Regions from separate parts of the Homo sapiens genome. Here regions 1, 2, 3, 5, 6 and 7 are each linked to region 4. Evidence: promoter capture Hi-C in 16 types of primary human blood cells and fetal thymus (Javierre and others, 2016). All regions are on one chromosome and are shown on one strand. Each heading gives the region's core, a stretch centred on a gene start or on the middle of the fragment in contact. The rest is flanking DNA. Distances are from core to core; before and after follow the strand shown. Region 1 overlaps LOC124902928. Region 2 holds the start of RAPGEF3 (Rap guanine nucleotide exchange factor 3). Region 3 overlaps ENDOU (endonuclease, poly(U) specific). Region 4 holds the start of CCDC184 (coiled-coil domain containing 184). Region 5 overlaps KANSL2 (KAT8 regulatory NSL complex subunit 2). Region 6 has its middle 4.9 kb from the start of LALBA. Region 7 has its middle 12 kb from the start of LALBA.

Region 1 (3,980 bases), core at 650-3,149, 450 kb before region 4:
AGGCTACAGTAGCACTCCATTATATCCTTATAGCCATACCTACCCCTCTTACCTATTTTTCACACTGCTGCAAGAGTGATCTTTGGGAAATGCAAATCTTCTATTACTCCTTTGCTTAAAAACCCTTCAGTAACTCCCCCTTGAACTTAGGGTGAAGATCAAACTCCTTGCTATGGGCTATGATGGCCACACAGTCTGTCTCCAGCCTACCTCTCCAGCCTTATCTCTCATGACTTCTTTCTGTTCCACAAATGTGGAAAGCTTTGCTTTAGAGCTTTGCACATACCTTTCCTCTCTGCCTGTTTCCTCCAAATTATCTTTGACACTTATTCCTGGTTAACTTCTACCTATCCTACAGGTTTCATCTTAGAATTAATTTTCTCAGGGAGTTGTCCTTTGACCCCTGACGTGGATGTGCTCTCTGTCCTTTGTCTTCATAGTACCCTCACATTTGTAATATATGAGTATTTGTAAAATTATTTGTTTAATGTTTGTTTCCCCTTTTAGACTCTAGAACTGTAATAAGGGACTTACTGTTTTACTCCCTGCTGTATCCCTTCTCCTGTGTAGTGCCTGGTGTATATTTGCATTGAATAATTAGTAGAAAAATCTAATAAAAGTGGTACCATGATCAGACTGGGTGAGCCACTTAGCAGCAGGAACCTGTATGGGAGAGAGTGTTCTCACTCCTGGAGGGGCTCGGGTAAAGTTGGGATGGGCTTACCATGAAATGTAAAGTAGTGGAGGAAGTGGAAGGACCTACTGCTATGAGAATGCCTGCCTTCCTGTGTCTGACCCTTTGTCACAGCTATTTAGGACTCCTTTCTGGTTGTCTGACTCCTTATTTTGCCCTCATCCAAAAACTGTAGGGTATTTTTCTTCCTGTTGAATTGTTGTTTCTAGAATTCACTGGACATATAAACCTCATATCCTTTGGGATTGGTTATAGGCCATAGATTGCCAGAACTGAAAGAGTCACTACTGCTATTACTGGTTTGTGTAATTATCAGCTTACAGTTAGTGCTTGCATGTGCCAGGCATTGTTATATAATTATCTCCATTTTACAGATGAGGCAGCCAGGTCATAAGAGACTAATGAATTTTCCCAAGTAATTTTATATATAATCTGGTCCAACCCTCTTAAGTAAAAGTGAGGAAATCAAGGCCTAGAAATATTAACTACTTACCAGTAACACCAAGTGTGTTAGTTTCCCAAGGCTGCCATAACAAAACAGCAAACTGGGTGGCTTAAAACAATAGAAATTTGTCTCAGTTCTGGAGACTAGATGGCTGAAAGTATTGGCACGGCCATGTTCTCTGAAACTTGTAGGAATGAAAGAATTCTTCCTTGCCTCTTCCTAGCTTTTGCTGGTTTGTGGGCTGTTTTTGATATTCCTTGGCTTGCAGCTTCATAACTCCAATCTCTGTCTTCATTGTCACAAGGAGTTCTCTCTGTTTTTCTATCTTTACATGGCCATCTTATAAGGACACTAGTTATATTGGATTAGGGGCCCACCCTACTTCAGTATGACTTCATCTTAACTAATTATTAAAAATGGCAAAAACCATAATTACTTTTGCACCAAACTAATACATCTGTAATGACACTATTTCCAGGTCATATTCTTGAGATACTGGGGGTTAGGACTTCAACATGTCATTCTTTGGGGGACACGATTCAACTCATAGCACTAAGTAATTAATGGAAGAGCTGGCATAAGAATGCAAATAGATTCATCAATGAGATAATTTTTACGTTGTGCCCCATATGAGTTCATATTCTTGTAATGTGTTTATTCCACATTCATTGGATATAACTCAAAGTTTTAGTCAAACCTCTTTCTCTTTAGCCATAGAGCAATTTTGAGATTTATATTTTATTGTCTTATTTGTGGTTGACTGTTACCAATTTTATTTTTTAACAGCTTTATTGAGTCATAATTGTCAAACAAAAAATTGCACCTATTTAAAGTGTACAACTTGATACCTTTTGGCACATATATACACTTACGAAACCATCCCCACAATAAAGATAGTAAGCATATCCATCACGCCAAAACTTTCCTTGAGTTCCTCTCTCTCCCATTCCTATTCCCTATTCCAAAGCAATCACTACTCTGCTTTTTGTCACATAGATTAGTTTACATTTTTTGAGTTTTATATAAATGGAATTATATAATATGCATTTTTTTGGGTCTAGGGTCTCAGTCTAGTGTACTGCTATATAACAAAATACCTTTAGGGTAATTTATATATTTATTTATTTGAGACAGCGTCTCACTCTGTCGCCCAGGCTGGAGTGCAATGGCGTGATCTCGGCTCACTGCCACCTCTGCCTGCCGGGTTCAAGCAATTCTTCTGCCTCAGCCTCCTGAGTAGCTGGGACTACAGGCGTGCGCCACCATGCCCAGCTAATTTTTTGTATTTTTAGTAGAGACAGGGTTTCACCATGCTGGCCAGGCTGGTCTTGAACTCCTGATCTTCTGATCCGCCCGCCTCAGACTCCCAAAGTGCTAGGATTACAGGCGTGAGCCACTGTGCTTGGCCAGATAGGGTAATTTAGAAATAAAATAAATTATTTATCACAGTTCTGGAGACTGGGAAGTCCAAGATCAAGATGATGGCAGGTTCAGTGTCTGGTGAGGGCTGCTCTCTGCTTCCAAGTTGGTGCCTTTTTGTTGCATCGGCACACAGCAGAAGGTGGAAGGGCAAGAGGGGACTAATGCTGTGTCCTCACATGGAAGAGAAGGAAGGCCCAGGCAGCTCTCTGAAGCCTCTTTTATAAAGGCACTAAGTAGTTTATGAGGGTGGAGCCCTCAAGACTTAATCACTTCCCCAAAGGCCCTATCTCTTAGTAATATCACATTAGATATTAGGTTCCAACATGTGAATTTTGGAGGGACACATATATGGTCAGCCTTTTTAAAATTTTAACAATTCTAATGGGTGTGGTTATATTCCATTGTAGTTTTAATTAGCTCTTCCCTAATGATTAATGAGTTGAGCAGCTTTTCATCAGCTGCTTATTTGCCATCCATGTGTCTCTGGTGAAGTTTCTATTCAAAGTTCCCCTACTCTTGGCCGTAGTCATCAGCAAAGGAATCAAGGATTTTCTTTTTTTCCCCTTTAACCGTGAGGTCAGTGTTGCTGGAACAAAAATGAGAGCAACAAGCCTAATCTTTCCTAATCTCCTTCCTTCTTTTCCTTTCCTTTTCTTTTTTTTTTTTTTTTGAGACGGAGTCTTGCTCTGTCACCCAGGCTGGGGTGCAGTGGCGCGATCTCGGCTCACTGCAAGCTCCGCCTCCCGGGTTCACGCCATTCTCCTGCCTCAGCCTCCTGAGTAGCTGGGACTACAGGCGCCCACCATCACACCCGGCTAATTTTTTGTATTTTTAGTAGAGATGGGGTTTCACCATGTTAGCCAGGATGGTCTCAATCTCCTGACCTCATAATCTACCTGCCTCGGCTTCCCAAAGTGCTGGGATTACAGGCGTGAGCCACCGTGCCCAGCATCTCCTTCCTAATAAAGAAAGCTTATTGGCTTTCAATAAAATAATACAGTGGAAGATCAAAGCATTACTTCTGTATGGAATGGCAGTTTTTCCTGTCCAGAGAACTGCCGCTTCTACTAGTGGCCACTGTGCCCTGGGGTGGTCTCTACTGTGGGGCAAAATGATTGCTTGCTTTTCTTTTAGTGTAGCCCCCTTCCCTCTGCACTTGCTCTTTGGATGCAGCATTAAAAAAAGGTAGGTCAAGTTTTTAGGACATGTGTTTGAATTCAGCGCTCTGAGGCAAACTGCTTCAAAGTCCAATTTACATCCAGATTTGGGGATGATCAAAAAAGTCCACTGTTACCTCTGCTACTGCTTTTTGTTTTGTTTTTTTAAATGGGCAGAAAAGTTCATGTCTTGCTGGCTACAATCATAGACGTGTGTATGTTTCTTGCTCTTCTAATACCACAGACAGCTTTGAGATGAGCA
Region 2 (3,714 bases), core at 595-3,094, 430 kb after region 4:
AGTTTCCTCAACTGCTCCCGGTGTGTGTGTGCTGGGGCAGGGGGCAGTGGGGCGTGGGTCTGGGAACGGAACTGTGGGAGGCAAGGCAGCGGGATTCCCCGCGGGAAAGCCGCCTATTCCCTCCCCCGGGCGGCTGGAGACCCTGAACCGAAACAGGAGGCAGACACCCCCAGCCGGGAAGCGGCCCCAGCCCGGATTTCCCTCCCGGGTGAGGCCGCAGTGACTCACCCCCTCCCCGCTCTCCCCGGTTTCCTTGTTTGCATTTCTCCTCCCGGCCACGTGGCGGCCAGTGCAGCCACTCACCGCCGGATCCCTGACACCCCGGCCGTTGCGGCCTCCTCCACACACTTCGGGGCCGCTCCTGCCCCCTGGGGATACTCTGGGCTCAGGCGGATGTCCACTCTGGTACCCCCGGGTGCGGACTCCAAAGCCTGCCAGTGCCGGCCCCCTTCCCCTACGCATTCCTCTACCGTAAGGCAGGGCGCCTCCACCCCGCCCCCTCCGCCAGTCCTGGGGAGGGGAAGGGGGCGGGCAGCGCAGGGGGTGTGACAGCTCCCGCCCGGACCGGTGCCAGCGCAGCCTTGCTTCAGCGCCCGGTGCCAGCTGGCTCCTTCGTCTGAGACGAAGGCGCAGGCTCGGGGCTCCCTGTCGCCGGTGGCTGGGTGGCGTCCCCCCACCACGCCCCCACCCCTCTACTCACCCAAGAGGAGCCTCTCCACCGAGCCCTGCATCCTGCTGCCCTGGCAGCCAGTCCAGCTAGGCACTGGCCCAGTTCACTGTACCTGGACTTACCCACTGGCACCCTCCGGATCCCCTTATCAAAGCTGATGGGGGTCGCTGGGGACCCCCCAGCCTTTTGCTAGAGCCTGCACGGCTGTGCGAGCTTGAAAAGAAACATGAAGGTGGGTAAGGTGGGGTCAGGGTTGAGGAGGAGCAGGAGAGGGCGGGAGAGGAAGCTGACACGGTGGGGAGTTTGGGTGGGAGAGGGAGGGTTAGTCAGGGCTGAGGAGGAGAGGAGAAGGGTTTAAGCCGAAGCTGCATTTCTGGGAGACCTAGTGAATCTATAGCTTCATACTGGGAGGTAGTGGAGATCCCTGCAGGGGCATGGGCAGTGAGATGGGACAGAATTCCAAAGAGGACTAAGAAGGGCCTGATCTTTTCCAAGAGCCAGCTGGAGACCCCTAAGTGCGCCAGACCGGCAGGCCCCAGTGAAGGTCTTCCTGTTCCTCCCCCCAGCTCCTGGCAGGGTTGCAGCACCTCCGCCTGACCAGTCCAGAGGACTCTAAGGAAGTAGTTCTGCCTGGGGCAGTTGTACTGTGGCCCAGCCGCCCCAGTCGTGTCCCATGGCTGTCCACTTTCCTCCCCGTGTCACAGGTGGGCTGGCCAGGTGAGAGCTGCTGGCAGGTGGGCCTGGCTGTGGAGGATAGCCCAGCTCTGGGAGCACCGCGGGTGGGAGCCCTCCCTGACGTGGTGCCGGAGGGGACACTACTCAACATGGTGTTGAGAAGGATGCACCGGCCCCGAAGCTGCTCCTACCAGCTGCTGCTGGAGCACCAGCGTCCGAGCTGCATCCAGGGGCTGCGCTGGGTGAGTACCTTTCACCTGCCCAGGTGCCAGGGCCAGTACCAGAGCTAGAGGGGGGCCTAGATCATGGCTTGGCATGCTGCTGGTGGCCCAGCTTGCTCTGGGGGTGTACAGTGGTACAGCTGCCGTGGACACTGGGTCAGGAAGCTTGTCTGCAGTGTGCGTGGGTGGCTCACACAGCTGCAACGTGTGTGTGTCTGTGTGTGTGTTCTGCCCAAATGTCTCTGTTTGGGCATGGGGGGAAGGGGAAAGGGATTTGTTGTTTATCTGTCACCTCAGTGAGCCGGCATTGAGTTAGGTACTTGTGTGTTCTTTCCAGGTGGAGGTGGGAGGTATGGGGGCCGGGTCAATGGGTTGGAGTGAGGTAAGCTTGGTTACAGTTCTGGGTGCATCACCGTGGCAACATTCTCCTTTAGTGAGTTACTGAACTGTGCTAATTCTGCGTTTTGGTCTTAGGGTGAGGTGATCATGTGGACACTGCTTGGTACCTGCCTTTGGGGGGCTCAGGGAAGGATTCTGAGACATTTGGAGAATCTGAGATCACCAAAGTGCCCTTTGCTAGTGAGAAACATCTCTGGACCTGAAAGAATGAAGGAGAGAGCAGGGAGGGGAAAGAATGGTGGGATTTGGGAGGCAAGATAATGGCTGTACTATCCAAATCAGCAGAGAAGCTATCCCCAACCATCCAGACTAAATAGAGTAGCTTAGCTTGAGATTCAGTTATGTCTCCACTGCGTGTGTCCACCCAGGTTTCGCTATGTTGCCTAGGTAGGTCTTGAACTCCTAGGCCCAAGCAATCCACCTGCCTTGGCCTCCCAAAGTGCTGGTATTACAGGCGTGACCCACTGCGCTTGGCCGGGAGAGTTCATTTCTTTTTTCTTTTCTTTCTTTTTTTTTTTTTTAACCAGAGTCTTCCTCTGTCACCAGGCTGGAGTGCAGTGAAGCAATCTTGGCTCACTACAGCCTCTGCCTCCCAGGTTCAAGTGATTCTCCTGCCTCAGCTTCCTGAGTAGCTGGGGCTACAGGTGTGCGCCACCACGCCCAGCTAATTTTTGTATTTTTAGTAGAGATGGGGTTTCACCATATTGGCCAGGATGGTCTTGATCGCTTGACCTCGTGATCTGCCCACCTCGCCCTCCCAAAGCACTGGGATTACAAGCATGAGCCATTGCGCCTAGCCGAGAGTTCACTTCTTATTGGCAAGTCCTTTTGAGTGGAATAACCACCACCCTCTCCCTCCTTCCCCCTACCTTGCCCAACTGCCATTTACAGTGAGGCTGAGTTGAAAAAACTGAGACCTACCAAGATGAGGGGCTCCTCTTTGCAATCAGAATTGAGAGGAGAGTCCACATGTCAGTCCTGGTAGAGCTGTTCTCTACTAGGGTCTTCCTTATCATGAGCCTGGGTCCTCCTCCGCTACCCCTCTGGCTCTCCGGCTCTCCGCTCTCCGGGTCACTGGCTGTAGCTATTGCCTGGAGCCAGTGGGCTGGAACCCTCCCTCCCTCCTTCCCTCTTGGGCTATAATTATTTGTGCATTTCCTGTCCCCTTCCCAGCTTGTGGAAGCAAGGTAGGGGGTAGGGAGAAGGTCAGGTGCCAGGACAATAGGTCACTGGAGGATCTCCTGGGACCTGAAGTCTGGGAGGGAGTGGAGGAGGCCACCAAGCTGTCTCCTGACTCTCCACAGCCCCCAGAAATGAAGGGCTGGTGTGCAGGGGAAGGCCAGAAAGGTGGGGGTAAAGGTTGCTGGAGTGTAAATGGGGTCAAAGGCACCAAAACAAGGCCTTTCCGTGCCAGGTGGGCGTTGGTGACTAGAGGGAACTTAGATTTTTAGTGTTTAGAGGCAGGCGGCCACTCCCTCTTCTGATGACCAACTTTGGGGACTGGGGTGGGGAGGTTTCATTCCATCATGCCTATATTTGAGAGGCTCTGGGTACCTGTGAAGCTGTACTTCTTACCTCTTGATGATGCCTTTAGCCCAGGGAAGGCTTCCGTGAGGGAATGAGTGCCAGCTGTGAGCATGCACGCCCATGGTGAAGGGGTGGAGCCCGAGTCCCAGGAAGACAGCACTGCCAGTTATTGAGGCCAGACCTCCCTCTTCGAAAGCCAAGGGGAAAACCCATCAACCTCCC
Region 3 (4,048 bases), core at 659-3,158, 470 kb after region 4:
TCCTTCTCTTCCATGTGTGAGGGCCACTGGGAACAGTGATATCCTTGATATCCAGAGGTGGATCCTATGGATAGTGATTTTGGCCTTTCTGGTAGATGTGCACTGGCAGCTCCAGGCAGAGGGTCCGGGTGGGCTCAGACACCTTAGCAAGGCAGACTGCCTCTTCTATTTAAAGAATCCAGTCTCCCTGGAAGGTTCACACAGGCCCCTAATGGACCCTCAACAAATACTGTCTGACTGTTGCCATTGGGCACCCGTTCTACTCCACTCTGTGGCACTCACCAGACCCCCTTTTCTGCCCTTCCCTCCACAGTGGGATTCTTACCCCGATGTGCTGGCAATGCAGTTCAACTGGGACGGCTACTATAAGGAAGTGGGCTCTGCTTTCATCGGCAGCAGCCCTGAGTTTGAGTTTGCACTCTACTCCCTGTGCTTCATCGCCAGGCCAGGCAAAGTGTAAGAATGGGGCCAGCCAGGCCTGGGGGCAGACTGGGGCTGCAGGCTGTCCTCAGCCATCACAGAGTCAAGAGACCTGGACTCTGCCACAAAGAGGCTGAGAGGGCTTGGACAAATCTGTGCTTTGGGCCTCAGTTCTCTTGCTTGAACAATTAAGTTTTTGGATTGGTTTGGTGGCTGCCAAACTTCATCTTAGCAGCAAAATTATCTCCCCTCATTCCCCCAAAGTGAAATCTTACGCAGGACCTTAATATATGAAATAGAAATGGAGTTGTCCTAGAGCTCTCAGCCTCTTTATTTGTCCCCTGAGGCTACTTAGGGGAACCTAGAGCTCCAGAAAGTACCATTAGGAACCACTGGGCTTCAAGTTCTCTAACATTCGGACACGTTGAGTTCTTCCACTTCTGAAACCCTAAGCAAATGTTTAATTTCTAAGGATTTCACCTCCAGAATCTGGGATTTTGGAATATTGCTCTGGGAAAGATGAGGAACAGCATTCTTTAAGAAGACAAGAAATAAGGCAAAGATTTTGAAATGGCTCCTTGCACATGGGGAGCTGGAGGCAGCTGCTGAAGAAAGCAGTGCCAGCTCTGTCTTTAAGGCTGTTTAAGCAGAATGGAGCCCTTCTGCTTCAGTTGGGCTTGATCCTTCCAGCCCAGGGAGAGGCAGCGTGAAGTGGGGAGCTCCTCTGATTTCAGGCTCTTTCCCCACAGGTGCCAGTTAAGCCTGGGAGGATATCCCTTAGCTGTCCGGACATATACCTGGGACAAGTCCACCTATGGGAATGGCAAGAAGTACATCGCCACAGCCTACATAGTGTCTTCCACCTAATAGAACTTCGAGCCAGAAAGGGGCATGAGGGCTCTTGCGAGACTGAAGTGCTATCTTCTCTGGACTAGAGAGAAGAGGGAGAGGACTGGAAGGGATCACCAAATCTCAAAGCAATGAGAAGCATTCCTAAATCCCAAAGTGCCCACATGGGAAAGAGATAAAATGTACAAATTAGAAAAATGTGGATAAACAGTCAAACCTTTATCCTCTAGAATTTTGGCAATGTTGACTAAGAAACAGAGTCCAAGCAGAGAAGGTAGGAACCCTCCATAGCTCTCTGCCCTGATGTGTGGGGGAACTAGGAAGAAGTCCTTTGACCTCACCAGGCCTCATGCTTCCCTTTAATGTAAAGGGAAGGGGTTTGCCCACTTTCCTCTTTTTGGGGTTGGTGAGAGGGCAAACCCTGATATTTTTACTGTGAAGGTGTTTTCAGTTGTTCTTAGGAAGAACAGCTGATAGAAATTCAAGATTACTATAATGGCTGTTATTATACACAGCTCTGTAAACTACCACTCAGCCCTGTGTTGGGGTCCTCAAAGAAGTAAGGCCACAGTAATCAAGCAAGGGCCTTTGGTTTTTTCCAGAGTTAGATCCTCTCAGAACAGAGTCTGGGAGAACTCCAATGCTGAATGGAGAAGGGTAATAGGTTGGTGCAGTGAATGGGCTGGGGGTGGGGTGGCCTTCTCCAGGCCTGAGTGTTTTTGTGTCCAGCTCAGTATCTGCAACAAGAAGTTTCCCACTTGTGGATGTTTAGTGCAGCCACAGACTTGTATTTTGATCCCCAATTTTTTTTTGAAAGAGTTCTCCTCATAGGAGGATGATTCAGCATCAGAAGAAGAAGGAACCCATAGCTTGGTGTCATTAACATAATTATTTTAAGCCTTATCCAGCAGCCATAATTTGAATAACTCTACGAGACCAGAGAGACTGTAGTTCCCTATTTTAACCTCAATTATGCATTTGTCCCCCAACCCCACTGAGAACTAAATGCTGTACCACAGAGCCGGGTGTGAACTATGGTTTAGAAGGTTCAAGTTTCCAATTAAAGTCATTGAAGAAAACTTGAAATGAGTGTCTTCTTTGTATATGGCCTCCCTCCAATGTCTGTCTCCCTGCCTTTTCCCTAGAGCAGGGCTGGCAGTGATACTTTTGCTCTAGAGTCTTTTCAGAATGGCTTGAAGAATGTGGTATCTGGGTGAAGTCTCTGTTGACTCACTAAGTCTCTCTAGCCAAGAGGGGAAGAGAATTCTGTAATATGAAGAGTGGAAGGATCATTGCATACAGATAGTGAGGCGGCCGGTGGGGGGGTGGTAAATGGAGATTGGTGGTCCCCATCCCCAATAACCAGTCCCCTTTATCAAATACACAGGAGTATAAGGACATTTCTGGATGTAGCTTCTGTGGTTGCAGAGGTTGACCACACTGGGGGAAGAGGAGATGCTAAAGAGATACAGAAAAAGACTTCTTATCTGTAAACAGATTACTCAAGCCACAATGCTAGAAAACGGTCAGGTATGAAGAGATACCTCGGGCAAGTTTATAGCCTGCAGATAGATGAAACAGGGCCTTGTCCTGCCCTTTCCCAGAGATGTTCACAGTCAATAGGCAAGACAGTGAGTCAGTAGAGCACAGGGGTAACAGGTACAGGCTCTGAAGTCATGTTGCCCAGGTACCTAGCCAGGCTCTGTTGCTTACTGGCCATATGAGCAAATTTCTTAATTATTCAGATTGTTTCCTCACCAGTCAAATGGGGATAATATTACCATTGTTGTGAGATAAGGAATGTGAAATAACATGCTAGTCTTTCTTATAGTAATTATTGTCTCACTTATTATACAGATTTAATTTTATACTGGGAGAGGCAATTTACTATCCCTGCTATCAGCCTTAACCTTCACCTACTGGTGCCCAGTACTTGTGCTCTTCATAGGCCTCTTCAGAGGTCTTCCAGGTAGTCCAGTAGGAGACAGAAAGACAGAAATGCAGGAGAGAGTACTGTATTCCAGGGTCTGGGCCTTAGCTTTGCAGGAGAGAAAGGTAAGAACTAACATTTGTTAAGCTGTTACCATGTCCCAAGCTGTGCTAAGTAGTCCTTTTATATTCATTTTCTCACTCTGGTGGGTATTTTTATCTTCACCACTTTAATTTTACCTAGACAACTGAGGATCAGATTAAGCCACATTCTTAGTCAGTAGCAGAATCAGGATTGCAAAATTCAACCCTTTTCCTCATGTTGTAGTGAGCCTGGATTTCTAGTAGTATCTACTCACTTATTCATTCATTATTTTTTAAAGAATATTTATTAAGACCCCTGACAGAGGCTGCTGGTTACCCCTCAGTATCTGCTCTCCTCTTCTTCCTTATTCACTGAAGTCTCAGTTTTTAGGTACACAAATGACTGTCAAGAGTACAGACTCTTGACCTCCCTTGCAACCAGAAGTAGGCGTGTGTCTATGTCCTCACCAATGGCATGCAAAAGGAAGTATTCTTAATGGGCAGGGGGTACCGTTATTCCCACTCTTGCCCTTTTCTGCCGACTGGATTTCAGACAAGATCGTGGGAGCTTGAGCAGCCAGCTTGAACCATGAATGAAAGCCATATGCTGAAGATCACAGAGCAGCCAGGAAGGAGCCTGGGTCTCACACCGAAACTGTCACACTAATCCTGGATTGCTTATATTCAGTTTTACATGAAAGAAAAATAATCTTTCATGTTTAAGCCACTCTTATTTTGGGCTTTCTGTCACATGCAACCAAACTTA
Region 4 (4,158 bases), core at 1,173-3,672:
AGAGTTGGCAATGCCTGTCCCAACCAGGGCAGGGACAGTCAACTCCTTGAACTGGAGGCAAGGAGAGAGGAGGGAAGGCATGGCCCCTGCAGTTCCCACTAAGACCCACCCTGATATCCCCTTAGTACCAGTCAGCAAGGAGGGGAGATGACGCCTTTTTATTAAGGTTAACACCAAGGAAAGCATTGAGAAGGAATACACAAAGGAGGGGGAGGGCACACAAAGTCACCACTTGAGGAGGTGGAAGGGCGGCACATCAGTAAAAGAACCTCAGGACAGCCACATGCTCCATGCCCTGGTTGGGGGAAGAGGGAGAGAAAAGCGCCATTGATAGCTTGGAGCTCGTAGAAGGGTCTGAAGCCCCTGAACCTAACACCAGAGCCACAAGCCCTGCCCCTGAGGGCTCACACACTACTACACAAGTAGACACACATAACACACACAAGACATTATGAAGGCAACACCGAGAGGCAGTGGGCAAGGACATATTGACAGAAAAAGGAACTGAAGTTAAGCAGGTGTAGCCAGGAGAGACAGTTTTTGGCTGCGGCCCCAAGAGTCCCTCAAATGTCCCCTAAATCTGGGCTGCTGCTGAGCACCCCCGAGTCTCTGCCTGTGAACCGGGCTCTTTGTTCTCTAAGCCCCAGGGAGTGGAAAAGCAATCCCAGATGAAGTCAGTGACAAGGCAGGATCCGCTCTGCATGCAAAATCCTAGAGGTTGAGCTATTATGTCTTCATGCACATTCATAGCCAGCTCCTCCCAGCCCAGGGGCCCTTGGAACCCCATTCACCCAGATTCCTAGGGCTGCAGTTCCCTCCTCAAGCTTCCTTTACCAATCAGCAGCCGCAGAGATCTGTGAGGGGGAGAGGCTTCTGCAGAGCACTGAATATCTTGGATTTCAGCAGAAGGGTAAATTTCCTGTTGCCAGAACAAAATACCCCCAATTCCTTAATTTCCAGGTAAATTGTTAGAGATTATTTGCCATGGTCCTAGGTAAGTCCTTTTTCAGAATAGAAAAAGCAGAATTTTATTTACACAATTCACGGGTTCTCCTGTTGTCTGGGAAGGGGGAAAGGACAGGATAGGGATGGATGGGAGTCCAGAGATGGGCGCTTCCTCTCCCGGAGCCTCACCTTTCCGCAGTTCGCTATAATTCGCTTAGTTGGGCAGAAAGAATTCTCGATGCTCCCAAAGTCCTTCACCCTACAAATCCTTCCTCGAGGGAGTCTCTCTCTGCCTGACCCACAAGAGCAGCTGTCCAAGTGAAGCATGCCGCACCGCGCCGTTCAGTCCCCCTCGCGTCATGCACTCGGAAACCCAAAGACAGCCCGGGAAGGTAGTGCCCCACGGAGTCCCCTCACAGGGAGGCCTCGCCCTCCAGTTGCAGCAGGGTAATGTCGGGCATGTCGAGGGGCTCCACAAGTGGCCCGTCCCCCCCAAGGAGACCAGCACAGGGGCTTTCGGGGCGCTCACAGTGACTGGAGGGTGTGGCGGGGCTGGGCATCTCCTTCTCTTCTTCCTCTTCCTCCTCGTCCTCGGGATCGCGACCCAGCAAGCCGCTGTCCCCGATCCCAGGCGAAGGAGTCTCCGGCTCTTGGGGGTCGCTCTGGAAGCTCCCCTTGCCGCCGACCACGCCCAAGCCGCCCTGGCGGGGCGCAGTGGTCATAATCTGGCACATGGAGACGATGGCTCGCTGGTTGGCGCACACGTCGTCCGAGAGCACCTGGATGTGCGAGGCCTGCTCGTCCAGGGCCCCCCTCATGGCCCTCACGTCCTCAAACAGGGCTTGCAGCTGGGCTTTCAGGTGCTCCATCAGTTCCTTCATGCCGCCGTTGTACTCCCCGGAGATCACGTCCCCCACTGCCGGCACGGTGGACACCTCCAGGGGCGCCGGCATGTCGCCGCCGTCCTTGGTCATGATCTCCAGCAGACCGTCCTCCATTGAGTGGCAGAAGCGGGTGGCGGAGGCTCTGGGTCGCGTCCAGCCCGGCCTCCGGGGTGGGGGAGGGGGTGGAGGGGGAGAGGTCCCGGGAGGGGCTAGCGGGAGCCGAGGGAAGCGGAGGCTCCCGAGACTGGCGGGGAGCCGACGTGAGAGACGAGTCCTGGGCAGAGGGCGCAGGCAGGATCGCGGGAGGCCGAGAAGAGGCTGCGGGACGAGGACCCGGCGAGGGTCCCAGAGCCGGCGTCTCTTGGGATCGCCCCGGGACGAAAGTGCCCTGCCCTGCCTCGCCTCCCGGATCGCGCCCGTGTCAGCGCCGCCCTCTGGGCGCCACAAGCAGAGAGCGCCTGCCGGTTCCGTGGGTCACAGACGCGCTCGCGGAGGGGTCCGCGTCCAGGCTGAGGCCAGCGGCGCGTCGGACTCGGGACTCCCCCAGGCCATTACCGGGCAGCGCCCGCGAGTGTGGCAGCAGCAGCTGGGGTGGGTCTCCCGGGGGTGTCGCGGATGCTCCTCTGTTTCCAAGGCGACGCACGGCACGTAAATGACGTGTGTCTCCATGGTAACCAGGAAGTGGCGAAGAAAAAGGGAGGATGGCTGGAAGCTGCAGTGGGGCTCTGGAGTCTGGACTAGCGGGGTGGGGGGAGGAGAGGGGACGCTACAGTGGCTTCGGCCAAGGCTGGAAAGAGCGTGTGGTCGCAATGTTTAATAGGGAAGTATGAGAGAGCCGTCTGCTGCAGAAACCTCCAAGTCCGGGAGAGATCGTCCCTCCCCTAGCCGGGGTATGAGACCCAGCGAGACTGCCCTGGAAAGATTTTTCCAGCCCGCATTCCTTTCTCAGAGGATGGCGCTAAAGTCGAGTCCTGCCTCCCTGTCCTCCAGCGATGCGCAGGAAAGCGGAGAGGGTAGAGAGGCTGTTGCTAATGATCCCAGAGTTGAGCTGGGGCACGGTGGCGCTCTGGAGCCGGACCCACCGGGCCTGACGGTGCAGAGGCAGGAGGAGGGCGCTACGGAGGTTTCTGCAGTAAATCAGCCCTCTAGCTATAGAAATCACCGGAGCGGGGGAAGGATGGGACTCCCTCCTTTATGAGACCCTACCGCTCCTACGCAGGTCTCTGGGAGTTTGTCCCAGATGGGGAGGCCAAGTGCTTAAGTTTTGAGAATGAAAGCTCCATAAGGGGAGAGATTTTTGTCTCCCCTGCACCCTCCATCACGGAATCCCCAGCTCCTAAAATAGTGCCTGGCACCTAGTATGTAGATGCTTAATATAGTTATTGAATGAATAACAAAAACCACCAAGTCCCACGCTCTCATCCAGAACTCCCCAAGCCAAACGTAGTGGGTTTTAGGAGACCTGAATTCAGTTTCGTTTCTGCCACTTATTCATTCAGCGACCTTGGCCACATCATTTTCCTCATCTGTTAGGGAATTGGACTGGATAATCTATAATACTATTTCTAATTCTGAATAACAGTCTGCATCATCTCACAGGTGAAAAGGTAAACTGTTGACCGTTGTGTGGAGGGTATGGATGGGGGGACTGTGTGTTAGAGTAATTCCCGCTCTCTCTTTCAGTGCCCAAGTTCAGACATACACTGAGTATCCCCAACCTTTGTGACAAGCCCTTTCCCTATTTAAGGGGTGGAGCAGGAAGGGTGGAGGAAGAAGAAAAATTGTCTTTAATATACGTAGATGATTGCAGATTGAGAAGGAATCAGCACCTGGGCAGAGCACAATAATTAATAATGACCCTAGGAAATTAGGGAAGCCAAGTGATCGGAAGCCAAAAATGAAGTTCATAAGAATAAATCTGGGAAAGAGAAACAAACTATATCACTTCAAGATAGAGAAGAACTACGTAAAGGTGAGTGTTTTGTAGACTGGCGGTTCAGTGACAGCAAATGTGTTACCTTTGGGTTTCCCTGGTTATGTGCTTGGTGATGAAGAGTGAGGCTGGCCCAGGGAAAGTTTTGTGACACTAGAGGACTGCTTGACCTATACCAATCTTACTGCTTTTAAAATAGAAACAAGTGGGGACTATCCTAAATGACCAGCAGCAGAATGTTTAAATAAACTAAGGCAAAATTGCTGATACATAAAGTATTATGCAGCCATTAAAAATTTGATTTCCCAAAACAAATATATGAACAAATTTTAAAAACACAGTATTGTATTTTCTGAAACTAATGATTCAATTCTATTTGCTTGCTCATTTCTTCCT
Region 5 (3,673 bases), core at 878-3,377, 480 kb before region 4:
TGCTGCATCCTCCACTCCCCTGGGTACAAGCGATTCTCCTGCCTCAGCCTCCCAAGTAGCTGGGATTGCAGGTGCCTGCCACCGTGCCCAGCTAATTTTTGTATTTTTAGTAGAGATGGGGTTTCACCGTGTTAGCCAGGATGGTCTCGATCTCCTGACCTTGTGATCTGCCTGCCTTGGCCTCCCAAAGTGCTGGGATTACAGGCATGAGCCACAGCGCCCGGCCACTTATTTTCTTTAATAGGGAGAGGAGAAGGAGAACCTCTTCTTAGTCTTTTGACAGGAAGCTGATTTTTATTTTGCTTATTAAATATTTTACTAATTTATTAATTACAACAGATGTCTGATAAGAGATTATTGTTCTTAATATATAAAATGGTTGTGCAAAGTAATGAAAAACTCTAAAGATAAATGCTTACAGCCTGGACAATACAGTAAGACCTCATCTCTAAAGAAAAAGAAGAAAGAAAAATTATCTGGTCACGATGGCATGTGACTGTAGTCCTAGCTACCTGGGAGGATTTTTTGAGCCTAGGAGTTTGAAGCTGAAGTGAGGATCATGCCACTGCATTCTACTTTGGGTGACAGAGGAAAACCCTGTCTCTAAAAAAAAAAAAAAAAAAAAAAAAGCGGGCGCAGTGGCTCACACCTGTAATTCCAGCACTTTGGGAGGCCAAGATGGGTGGATCACGAGGTCAGGAGTTCAAGACCAGCCTGGCCAAGATGGTGAAACCTCATCTCTACTAAAAATACAAAAAAAACTAGCCAGGCATGGTGGCGGGTTCCTGTAATCCTTGCTACTTGGGAGGCTGAGGCAGAGAATTGCTTGAACCTGGGAGGTGGAGGTTGCAGTGGGAGGAGTTCACGCCACTGCACTCCAGCCTGGGCAACAGAGTGAGACTCCATCTCAAAAAAAAAAAAAAAAAAAAAAGGCCAGGTGCGGTGGCTCACGCCTGTAATCCCGGCACTTTGGGAGGCCGAGGCGGGCAGATCACGAGGTCAGGAGGTCGAGACCATCCTGGCTAACACGGCAAAACCCCATCTCTACTAAAAATACAAAAATTAGCCGGGTGCGGTGGTGGGCGCCTGTAGTCCCAGCTACTGAAGAGGCTGAGGTGGGAGAATGGCATGAACTTGGGAGGCGGAGCTTGCAGTGAGCTGAGGTTTTGCGCCACTGCACTCCAGCCTGGGCGACAGATGTGAGACTCTGTGTCAAAAAAAAAAAAAAATTGCTTAAAACATAATTGGGCAGAGGCTATGGGCAGATTTAAAAGAAGATAGAAAAGGCTAATAGGGCCGGGCAAAGTGGCTCTCACCTGTAATCTCAGCACTTTGGGAGGCTGAGGTGGGTGGATCACCTGAGGTCAGGGGTTCGAGACCAGCTTTGCCAATATGGTGAAACCCCATCTCTACTAAATATACAAAAATTAGCCAGGCGTGGTGATGGGCACCCGTAATCCCAGCTACTCGGGAGGCTGAGGCAGGAGAATCGCTTGAACCCGGAAGGCGGAGGCGGTGAGCCGATATCGTGCCATTGCACTCCAGCCTGGGCGACAGAGTGAGACTCTGTCTCAAAAAAAAAAAAAAAAAAAAAAGGCTAATAGTTAAAAGTGTGTATCTTCACTATAAATACAGTTGGCCTTTGAACAATTCATGGGGTTAGGGTGCTGACCCCCTACACAGTTGAAAATTTGTATATAATTTTTGATTCTCCCAAAATTTAACTGCTAATAGCCTTATGGCTTACTGTTGATCAGAAGCCTTATCAACAACATAGCTTCCTAACACATATTTTATATGTTTATATGTCTTATATATTGTGTTCTTAAAATAAACTAGGAAAAAGTGTTACTAAGAAAATCATAAGAGAAAATATATTTACTGTTTATTAAATGGAAGTGGATTATCATAGAGGTCCTTATTCTCATGGTCTTTTTGTTAAGTGGAGGGGGAAGTGTTATTGTCTGTGGGATGACAGAGGCAGAAGAAAATGCACGTGTAAGTAGACCCGTGCAGTTCAAGCTTGTGTTGTTAAAGGTCAACTGTAAATAGGAAATAAGGAAAATTAAAAATCTATAAAATTGATATTTGTACATATATTTGTTTTAAAATAAAATTTAAAATATACAATTTTTCAAAAATGAGTCAGTGAATTTCAAAAGTAGGTGAGAGTATGGTGAAATTGACCCTTCTAAATATTGCCAGTGGGAATATAAATAGATAAAAGCTTTTTGGAAAGCAATCTGACAGTAATTCATATTTCCTCATATGGTAATTTTTACCTCTGGGAATTTATTTTAAGGAGATAATCAAATGCAGACCAATATTTTTACATGAAATATTCTTCCAACTTGAGACAGCCTTAACATTTTTAGAGCTGGAGAATAGGTAGATAAATTAATGACACAACATAGTGTGGAATATTTTCAGGCATTAAATATATTTAACAGAATTTATGAATGACAGCAAAATGATAGTGACATTCCAGGATATGGAATTCTGTACGGTGTCTGAAATTGCATGAAACCAAATACTGGAAGGGAACAATACAGAAATGTGATAATTTGTGCATGGTGTGGTTGTGAATGCCCTTTTTTCACTGTTCTTTTATTTTTTGTTTTTTTAAGGCGAGCATGAATTACTTTTATAAGGGAAAAAACTCAGTTTACAGATACTAAGGACTATTTTAGATATTATAATACTGTAGTCAAATAGCTTATTAAAATATAAATATAAAGCAAAATTGAAAATGTATTTGAAAAGAGAAGGGAAGTATTTTTTTTCCTTTTATGCTCTTTCCTTTCCACTCCATAGTTGCCTAAGTCACTTACCCTTCCTTAAGTCCTTATCCCAGAGAAAGATGCGACTGCCATTGGTGACCTGTTAACTCTTTACTGTGGTCTAATGGAGACAGCACTCGACTGAAAGTGAAGGACCCAGACTCTAGTTGTAGGTTAACCATTCCCTTCTTTTTACCTCTTTTGCCCCATCTGAAAGGAAAGCGGGTGGAGGATGATGGGGGGAGTCCTTTTTTAGGATATTGTGGTATTAAATACATAAGAGACTTGTGAAAGTCCTTTGAATTCCAATAAAAAAAAGTTCTTGGCCAGGCGTGGTGGCTCACGCCTGTAATCCCAACACTTTGGGAGGCTGAGGCGGGCTGATCACCTGAGGTCAGGAGTTAGAGACCAGCCTGGCCAACATGGCGAAACCCTGTCTCTACTAGAAGTATAAAAATCAGCCGGGTGTGATGGCAGGTGCCTGTAATCCCAGCTACTTTGGAGTCTGCGGCAGGAGAATCTCTTGAACCCAGGAGGCAGAGGTTGCAGTGAGCCGAGATCACGCCACTGCATTCTAGCCTGGGTGACAGAGCGAGACTTCGTGTAAAAAAAATTTCTGGTTGAAACATTTAATGGATAATATTTTAAATATTAAGAGTGGGCTTCTTAAGCACATTAGATATTGCTTAGATTTTCTTAAGCGCATAGTGCAAATCTGATGATTCCCATTAGATTCATATGTTTATTCATTTGATCATTCAATAAATATTTGTTTGCCTTGTACTATCTTCTGTTTCTTTAGAGTAGTGGTTTTCAACTGGGGGCCATTTTGTTTTCCAGTTGGCAATGTGTGGAGAAATTTTTGGTTGTTACAACTCAGATGGAGGTGCTAC
Region 6 (3,778 bases), core at 1,199-3,698, 380 kb before region 4:
TAGAAATGTGCGCTGGGCATTCACAAAAGGAAAGATAACTTATCTTTGGAGGGGATGTTGGGAAAAAGGAATCAAGAAAGGGTTCCTGAAAGGGAGAGCATTTAGGCTGGTTTTAAAGTCTGTGTGGGATTTTGACAAGTGGAGATGTGGGGTGGGAAAAGGAAGAGCATGGACGGGAACCCAAGAATCTGAAATGGGTGACTTGTTGAAGGATTTCTTTATCCTTCATGAGGAGCTGTGAAGGGAACCCTTCCTGTCTCTGGAAACCAGAGAGAGAACAGGGACCTTGACAGTCAGCACAGTGGTGCTGAAGAATCTGAGAAAATGGGACCTTTTGGTTTGGACCCTCCACTCCATTATTTCTTCTTGTGCTGTGCTTGGTTTTTAAGGAGAATATTTGCAGAACTTCATTCATTTAAATAATTATGGGATATGTGAAAGAAGAAGAATCAGGAAATTTGGGTCCTAAAATCTGTTTCTGCTACTTATTGAGGGTCTGAACCTGGGCAGGTCATCTCCATTCTCTGTGCCTCAGTTTCCTCATCTTAGAATAAGGATTTTGGTCTAGATAGTTTTCTGAGATCACTTCCTGCTTTAACAATCCAGCATTCCAAACTACAGTTTAATTTGTCACACTCTGAATGAGCTGAGAATGACATTCGCATTGTTGCTCAGCTCCACAGCCCTGGCCTTCATCCCACAGAGAAGACAGGAAAGTTCACCTGTGTGGGCAAGTACACCGTATATGAGTTCATGATCTTCAGGAGCTGTTGCTGAAGGAATTGACAGTAAGAGATTTATCTGTAGAGAGAACCTCAGCCTGAGGTCAGAAGATCAAGAACAGATAGAAGCCAGGGAACTGGCAGGAAAGACATCTTTTTCTTTTTTTCAATTATTCATTTGTTACAGTGGGTTATGATACAAATGTTTATAGATGCCTACTCTGTACTAGTACTACAGAGCAGTTTTTCTGTGTTTATATTCAGTTCAATTGTAGTGTGTTGAGTTGTAAAATAATCCATGTATTAAATCAAATAAACAAACAAAATGCCATGTTCTTTGGTACAAGCAACACTACCAAAGGCATTTGGGGTCTGCATTTGGAATTCTCAGGCAAACTCTCTCTTGTTCCTAGTCTGTACTTATTTTCCCCACACTAGCTTATGTATATATATTTTTTGAGATGGAGTTTTGCCCTTGTTGCCCAGGCTGGAGTGCAGTGGCACGATCTTGGCTCACTGAGACCTCCACGTCTTGGGTTAAAGCGTTTCTCCTGCCTCAGCCTCCTGACTAGCTGGGATTACAGGCGCCTGCCACCATGCCCGGCTAATTTTTGTATTTTTAGTAGAGATGGGCTTTCACCATGTTGCTCAGGCTGGTCTTGAACTCCCACCTCGGCCTTCCAATGTGCTGGGATTACAGGTGTGAGCCACAGTGACTGGCCTGTACATTTTTTAAATTTCAATGTCTAATATGGTGTCCACTGAATTAAGAATTCTTTTGAGAAAATGAATCAATAAATCTATACACTGCCTCCTTTATCCAGTGAGGTATGGCTGGATCAGCTTCATGACATACATGCCAGTAGTCTTCTTCGCCTTCTCCTCCTCCTCCTTTTTTACAAATAAAAATTGTATATGTTGAAGGTGTACAACTTGATGTTTTGTTATATGTATACACTTAAATGATCACCACAGTCAAGCTCATTAACATATCATCGCCTCACATGATTACTTTTCTTTTTCTTTGGACATAGAAGCAGGCTTGATAGATGCAGTTCTCTTGGCATTTGGGTAGAAGCAGGACAGGAAACTGCTGTTCTCTTCCTGAGAACTTTCTTGAGAGCTGAATAGGAGGCAGCATGGCAGCTGAGCATCGGTTCTGCTTTCTCTACCTCTGTCTCTTTCCCTTAGGCCTAAAATGAAGCTCTAAGCCAAGCAAAGGTCTGAAGTCATCCAGACTAATTGGGAAGCGGGTAGGCTCCAGGGAGTGGCTCTCAGAGAGCAGACCATTTACTGAGCTCTGTGTGAGAAAGACTCAAAATGGTTCACAGCAATACAGAGTTTTGTTCTCTCCTCTTATCCTGCTTTCTCCTCCCTGCTACTTTTCCCTGACACCTATCTTGTTGTGAAGACAGGAATTGCATTAGATAAAATCAAATGTTTTTTATTTTTTTTTGAGATGGAATCTTGCTCTGTTGCCCAGGCTGGAGTGCTGTGGCACGATCTTGGTTCACTGCAACCTCCGCTTCCTGGGTTCAAGCGATTCTCCTGCCTCAGCCTTCTGAATAGCTGGGATTACAGGCATGCGCTGCCACGCCCAGCTAATTTTTGTATTTTTAGTAGAGACGGGGTTTCACCATGTTGGCCAGGTGGGTCTTGAACTCCTGCCCTCAGGTGATCCGCCCTCCTCAGCCTTCCAAAGTGCTGAGATTACAGGCGTGAGACACCGTGTCTGGCCTCTTTTTTTTTTTTTTTTGATGGAGTCTCTCTCTCTGTTGCCCAGGCTAGAGTGCAGTGGCGTAATCTCAGCTCACTGCAACCTCTGCCTCTCAAGTTCAAACAGTTTTCCTGCCTCAGCCTCCCAAGTAGCTGGGGTTACAGGTGCCCACCACCATGCCCAGCTAATTTTTGTATTTTTAGTAGACCTGGGGTTTCACCGTGTTGGCCGGGTTGGTCTTGAACTCCTGACCTCAGGTGATCCGCCCACCTCAGCCTCCCAAAGTGCTGGGATTACAGGCGTGAGCCACCATGCCCGGCCCCAAATATTTCTTTTCATGTTTCTTCTCCCACTTCTCCTTCTCTCTCATCCATTCATTTTTTTCATTTATTGAACACTAATTAAGAGCCTATTAGGTGACAGGAGGTACTAGATATTGGGTATACAGAAGCTATTAGAGGTTTTTCTCTTAAGACCCTTATACTTTAGAGGGGGATACTCCCCTCCTCCCATTTCCTGGGATCATGCAAGAGAAAAGACTTCAGGTGATCCACATTCATTCCTTCCTTCACTGCTTGATTTGTCACCAAGTGGTTATTGAGGATATGCTGTTTGCTAGGTACTACTTTACTTATTTATTTGTTTATTTAGAGATGGGGTCTCACAATGTTGCCCAGTCTACAGGACAGTGGCTATTCACAGGTGTGAGCACAGCACACTACAGCCTCAAACTCCTGAGTTCAAGAGATCCTCCTGCCTCAGTCTCTCGAGTAGCTGGGACTACAGGGATGTGCCACCACACATGGCTTAGGCTCTACTTTAGCTGCTACTTGTTAAGGATGAAGATAGGAGGAGACACTCTTATTTTATTTGATTTCTTTTTTTTTTTTTTTTTGACAGAGTTTTGCTCTGTTGCCAGGCTGGAGTGCTCACTGCAACCTCCACCTCCCAGGTTCAAGCAATTCTCCTGCTTCAGCCTCCCGAGTAGCTGGGACCACAGGCATGAACCACCACACCAGGCTAATTTCTGTATTTTTAGTAGAGACAGGGTTTCACCATATTGGCCAGGATGGTCTTGATCTCCTGACCTTGTGATCTGCCCGCCTCGGCCTCCCAAAGTGCTAGGATTACAGGTGTGAGCCACCATGCCCGGCCTATTTGACTTCTTTCTAAGTTGTTATGGGATGTAGATCTTTCCAGGGACTTTTTGGCATGAGAACAAAAGAGGAGTTGGGTCACAGTGCCAAGATGGGACTATCCCAGAATGCAGAAGGACATTTGCTAGTGGTCTGATAGGTCGATTTACCTTTTGTGCATAGACATAAGTAAAAGGGAGAGG
Region 7 (3,672 bases), core at 162-2,661, 400 kb before region 4:
GAAGTATGTCCTTTAACTTCCCAATATTTGGGGGGGATTTTCCAGATACCTTTCTGTTATTGTTTTTTAGTTCTTTTGTGATATTTTAGTCCTATTTTTTGTTTGTTATTTTCTTATTCTATTTTGTTTCTATATGGGTTTGGAATCTTTGTTTTTCTATTATTTTACTAGTTTACCTGAAAATTTTGATAATGCACTTTTAATAAACTCTGAAGTGAATTACTATCTTTACTATTTCCCTATAGAATGCAAGGCCTTAGGAAACTTTCACTCTAAATATTGCCCAACTTACATGCTTCTATTTTCCATCATTTTAATTTTGAATATCTAACTCCACAAAGCAGTGATTATCTTTTGTCACAGGTCAGGCTCCCCTGAGAAACATTCTGCGATGGAGACTGGTGTACAAGTTGATTGGACAGTGGTTTTGGAATCAACATCTGTGTGTGTTTGTGGGGTGGGGTGGTGGGAGGCTGAAGGAAGTAGGACTGGTGACAGGGACAAGCTGTGCTCTGGTGCAGTCACAACAAAGTGCTCAGCCAATCTTGTGGGGAGTTGTGGAGCTGAAATGGCCCTGCAGACTTGTCTCTCACTGAGGCAAAGGGGCTCTCCTTTTGAGAATAATTTTCAGATTGGGATTCACCTGAGTGCTATCAGCAGATAGCTCTCCTAGCAGCTGGGGGAACCACTGCTTTAATCCTGAAAGGGGTGGAGGGAATCTGGTTGGTGCACTGTAGCATCCACTGGAATCCATTTGTGTGCTGCTTGGACCCACTTGCTTTGCATATGCTCTGGGAGTAGCTCTTTCAGGATTTTGGTGATGTCTTTTCATGGGGAAAATTGAAAGAAGTTTAGTGGTGTGAAAGTTGTCAGAAAGGTTCTCATGTTTGTATGCCTGATAACAGAACTATCCCAAGAGATGGCAACAATCACAACCTTGCAAAGTCCATTGCAACCTACACAAAAAATACTTCTGCAAAGGCATTTGCCCAGCAACTGTCTGTTCAGCCTTGAACTGGCGTCACCCTTGTTATTGACCCTGATAGCCAAGGATAATCATCTCATTTCTGTTTTTGTTTGAGGTGAGGTCTCGCTCTGTCACCCAGGCTGGAGTGCAGTGGCGTGATCTTGGTTCACTGCAACCTCCGCCTCCTGGGCTCAAGAGATTCTCCCACCTCAGCCTCCTCAGTAGCGGGGACCACAGGCACGCACCACCACGCCTGGCTAATGTTTTGTATTTTGGTAGAGATAGGATTTCGCCATGTTGCCCAGGCTGGTCTCAAACTCCTGAGCTCAAGCAATCCGCCTGAACCTTGGCCTCTCAAAGTGCTGGGATTACAGGCATGAGCCACCATGCCCTGCCAATAATTTCAAAACAATTGTGTATAATCCTCCTCATTTTTCCTTTAAAAACTTTTGTCTTCCTTTACCTCCCTGAATATATACATAGTTTATTATGGCATATGTATTCCCATTGCAAAGGCTTATTGCCAAATAAATACCTTTTTCTTTTAGAAGGTCTCTCTCTGTTATTTCATTTAACAGTGGAATTAATTACAGCTCCCACTGCTGCAACTGGTCTCTAGGCTGCACCTGTCCCTTACTACTCATTCTAGATTCCTCTTATTCTAGAGTGGTATTGCTGCTAGTCTAGTGGCTTACCTTGTGGTCTGACTCAGATCTTCATCCTTAAAGTTCTGAAAGCCTGGTTACCTTTCCCTTCTCAGGTTGTAATTGCTGAGTTTATAATTTACAATAAAAGTTGGGCCGGGCGCGGTGACTCACACCTGTAATCCCAGCACTTTGGGAGGCCGAGGCAGGCAGATCACGAGGTCAGGAGATCAAGACCATCCTGGCTAACACAATGAAACCCCGTCTCTACTAAAAATACAAAAAAATTAGCTGGGCATGGTGGCAGGTGCTTGTAGTCCCAGCTACTCGGGAGGCTGAGGCAGGAGAATGGCGTGAACCCGGGAGGTGGAGCTTGCAGTTAGCGGAGATCGTGCCACCGCACCCCAGCCTGGGCGACAGAGCGATACTCCGTCTCAAAAAAAAAAAAATAGTTGGGCAAGGAGGCCGGGCATGGTGGCTCACGCCTGTAATCTTAGCACTTTGGGAGGCCAAGGTAGGTGGATTACCTGAGGTCAGACATTTGAGACCAGCCTGGCCAAAACATGATGAAACCTCGTCTCTACTAAAAATACAAAAATTAGCTGGGCTTGGTGGTGTTCACCTGTAATCTCAGCTACTTGGGTGGCTGAGGCACAAGAATCACTTGAACCCAGGAGGTGTAGGTTGCAGTGAGCTGAGATCATGCCACTGCACTACAGCCTGGGTGACAGAGTGAGATTCTGTCTCAAAAAAAAAAAAAAAAAATTGGGCAAGGAAGTGCCAAGAGACACCACAATGGATCACCTGGATGCCAAACATATTCTTCATCGCTAATTTTGATGATTAGGGTTAGTCATCCCTTCCGGGATAGTGAGTCTTTCATGCTTGTTAGTCTCTTAGCATGAGAAACGTGAAGCTGCAGCTGTAGCTTAAAGTTTAATGGGACACCCACTACGTTTCCTAGAACTGAGAACTAATATCTCTTAGCTATAGAGCTCAACGTGACAGGGACAGGAAGTACAGATTCCCAAAATAGGTCACTAGGAGTGACGGTGAACAGGGCAGTTTTATGTCTACTCCTGGGTTCCCAGGTTCATGTATTCTATGTATCAGAGACAGCACCATACCATGGTCATGTTACTGTCAGGGAGAATGGCAGCCCATTTCCACAGGGTTTCCAAATCTCATTTTAGAGCTTGCTGCCTTGAACTACTTCTGACACCAACTGTTTTAGGTCAGGTTTCCTGGGTAACAGACTCTGAGATGGAGATTTGCGTGCAGGAAGTTTACTGGGAAATGCGCGTGGTCTCAACACCTGTGAGGTGAAAGATTGAAGAAAGCAGGATTGGCCAGAAGAAGGTGAATTGTGATATAGTCATAACAAAGCTTCAGCTGATTTCATAAGAGCCTCTGGAACTGGGATGGCTGTGAAAAATTGTCCTCCATTGAGGCAAAGGGGCCAAGCTTCTCTATCCACATCAACCAGCCACTGGATGTGAACTGCTTCTGGGAAGTAAATGTGTCCCTTGGGCAAGGTGGCTCTTTTCAGTGGAGGGGAGTTGGTTCTCCTCACTTGCATTCATAATAGTTCATTTTGTGTTTGGTAATTTTCTTTTTAGGGACAGAGTTTCACTCTGTTGCCCAGGCTGGAGTGCAGTAGCATGATCATGGCTCACTGTAACCTGGGCTCAAATGATCCTCTCATATCAACCTCCTGAGTAGCTGGGGCTACAAGCACTTGCCACCACGCCTGGCTAACTTTTAGATTTTGGGGAAATAAGGATGGGGTCTCACTATGTTGTCCAGGTTGGTCTTTAACTGCTGGCCTCAAGCAATCCTCCTGCCTTGGCCTCCCAAAGCACTGGGATTACAGGCGTGAGTCAATGCATCTGGTTGATGTGTTTGGTATTGTTTTCTGAGCTCCTAGTTAGTTAACTTAATCTGTGGAAATTTCAAGGACCTCCGAGGAGGATTGCTTATGCTTCTTCCACATCTCAATTTAGTTTATTTTCTCAGCTTGGAATTTCCTTGACTAGATGTGGTTATGTTAGCATGAACTTC

Evidence for each region. The method cuts DNA at HindIII sites, captures the fragments that hold promoters and counts their contacts. A CHiCAGO score of 5 or more calls a contact.
Region 1: a contact is called between a fragment that was not itself captured here and the fragment with the promoter of CCDC184 in region 4, in 1 of 17 cell types (M1 macrophages). The highest score is 5.1, in M1 macrophages.
Region 2: a contact is called between a fragment that was not itself captured here and the fragment with the promoter of CCDC184 in region 4, in 2 of 17 cell types (fetal thymus and naive B cells). The highest score is 7.6, in fetal thymus.
Region 3: a contact is called between a fragment that was not itself captured here and the fragment with the promoter of CCDC184 in region 4, in 11 of 17 cell types (fetal thymus, naive CD4 T cells, non-activated CD4 T cells and 8 more). The highest score is 19.6, in fetal thymus.
Region 5: a contact is called between a fragment that was not itself captured here and the fragment with the promoter of CCDC184 in region 4, in 2 of 17 cell types (megakaryocytes and erythroblasts). The highest score is 5.3, in megakaryocytes.
Region 6: a fragment that was not itself captured here is called in contact with the fragment with the promoter of CCDC184 in region 4 in 1 of 17 cell types (M1 macrophages); the score reaches 5.7 in M1 macrophages.
Region 7: a contact is called between a fragment that was not itself captured here and the fragment with the promoter of CCDC184 in region 4, in 3 of 17 cell types (M1 macrophages, megakaryocytes and erythroblasts). The highest score is 7.0, in M1 macrophages.

Annotation. Positions count from the first base shown.
Region 1 is chr12:48,636,389-48,640,368 of GRCh38, reverse strand. LOC124902928 reads left to right here. Exons shown (of 1, transcript XM_047429953.1): 1 at 1-2,059. Among named protein-coding and RNA genes, the nearest start is that of SNORA2C, 16 kb to the left of the region's middle. The HindIII fragment of the contact is 3,272 bases long and covers 264-3,535 here.
Region 2 is chr12:47,755,739-47,759,452 of GRCh38, reverse strand. It overlaps RAPGEF3 (Rap guanine nucleotide exchange factor 3), which reads left to right and starts at 573. Exons shown (of 28, transcript NM_001098531.4): 1 at 573-902; 2 at 1,375-1,587. The coding sequence starts at 897. It also overlaps a transcript of SLC48A1 not described here. RefSeq lists enhancers at 25-693, 694-1,362, 3,576-3,645, 3,676-3,714 and a silencer at 404-753. The HindIII fragment of the contact is 222 bases long and covers 1,734-1,955 here.
Region 3 is chr12:47,708,041-47,712,088 of GRCh38, reverse strand. It overlaps ENDOU (endonuclease, poly(U) specific), which reads left to right. Exons shown (of 10, transcript NM_001172439.2): 9 at 314-456; 10 at 1,170-2,355. The coding sequence ends at 1,287. All of the region lies in intron 1 of RPAP3-DT (RPAP3 divergent transcript), which reads right to left. Among named protein-coding and RNA genes, the nearest start is that of RPAP3-DT, 4.0 kb to the right of the region's middle. The HindIII fragment of the contact is 7,938 bases long and covers 1-4,048 here.
Region 4 is chr12:48,181,908-48,186,065 of GRCh38, reverse strand. It overlaps CCDC184 (coiled-coil domain containing 184), which reads right to left and starts at 2,422. Exons shown (of 1, transcript NM_001013635.4): 1 at 140-2,422. The coding sequence starts at 1,943. The coding sequence ends at 1,359. The HindIII fragment of the contact is 3,853 bases long and covers 827-4,158 here.
Region 5 is chr12:48,661,836-48,665,508 of GRCh38, reverse strand. All of the region lies in intron 7 of KANSL2 (KAT8 regulatory NSL complex subunit 2), which reads left to right. Among named protein-coding and RNA genes, the nearest start is that of SNORA2B, 3.9 kb to the left of the region's middle. The HindIII fragment of the contact is 205 bases long and covers 2,025-2,229 here.
Region 6 is chr12:48,563,266-48,567,043 of GRCh38, reverse strand. No RefSeq gene overlaps it. Among named protein-coding and RNA genes, the nearest start is that of LALBA, 4.9 kb to the left of the region's middle. The HindIII fragment of the contact is 6,527 bases long and covers 1-3,778 here.
Region 7 is chr12:48,579,815-48,583,486 of GRCh38, reverse strand. No RefSeq gene overlaps it. Among named protein-coding and RNA genes, the nearest start is that of LALBA, 12 kb to the right of the region's middle. The HindIII fragment of the contact is 3,177 bases long and covers 1-2,999 here.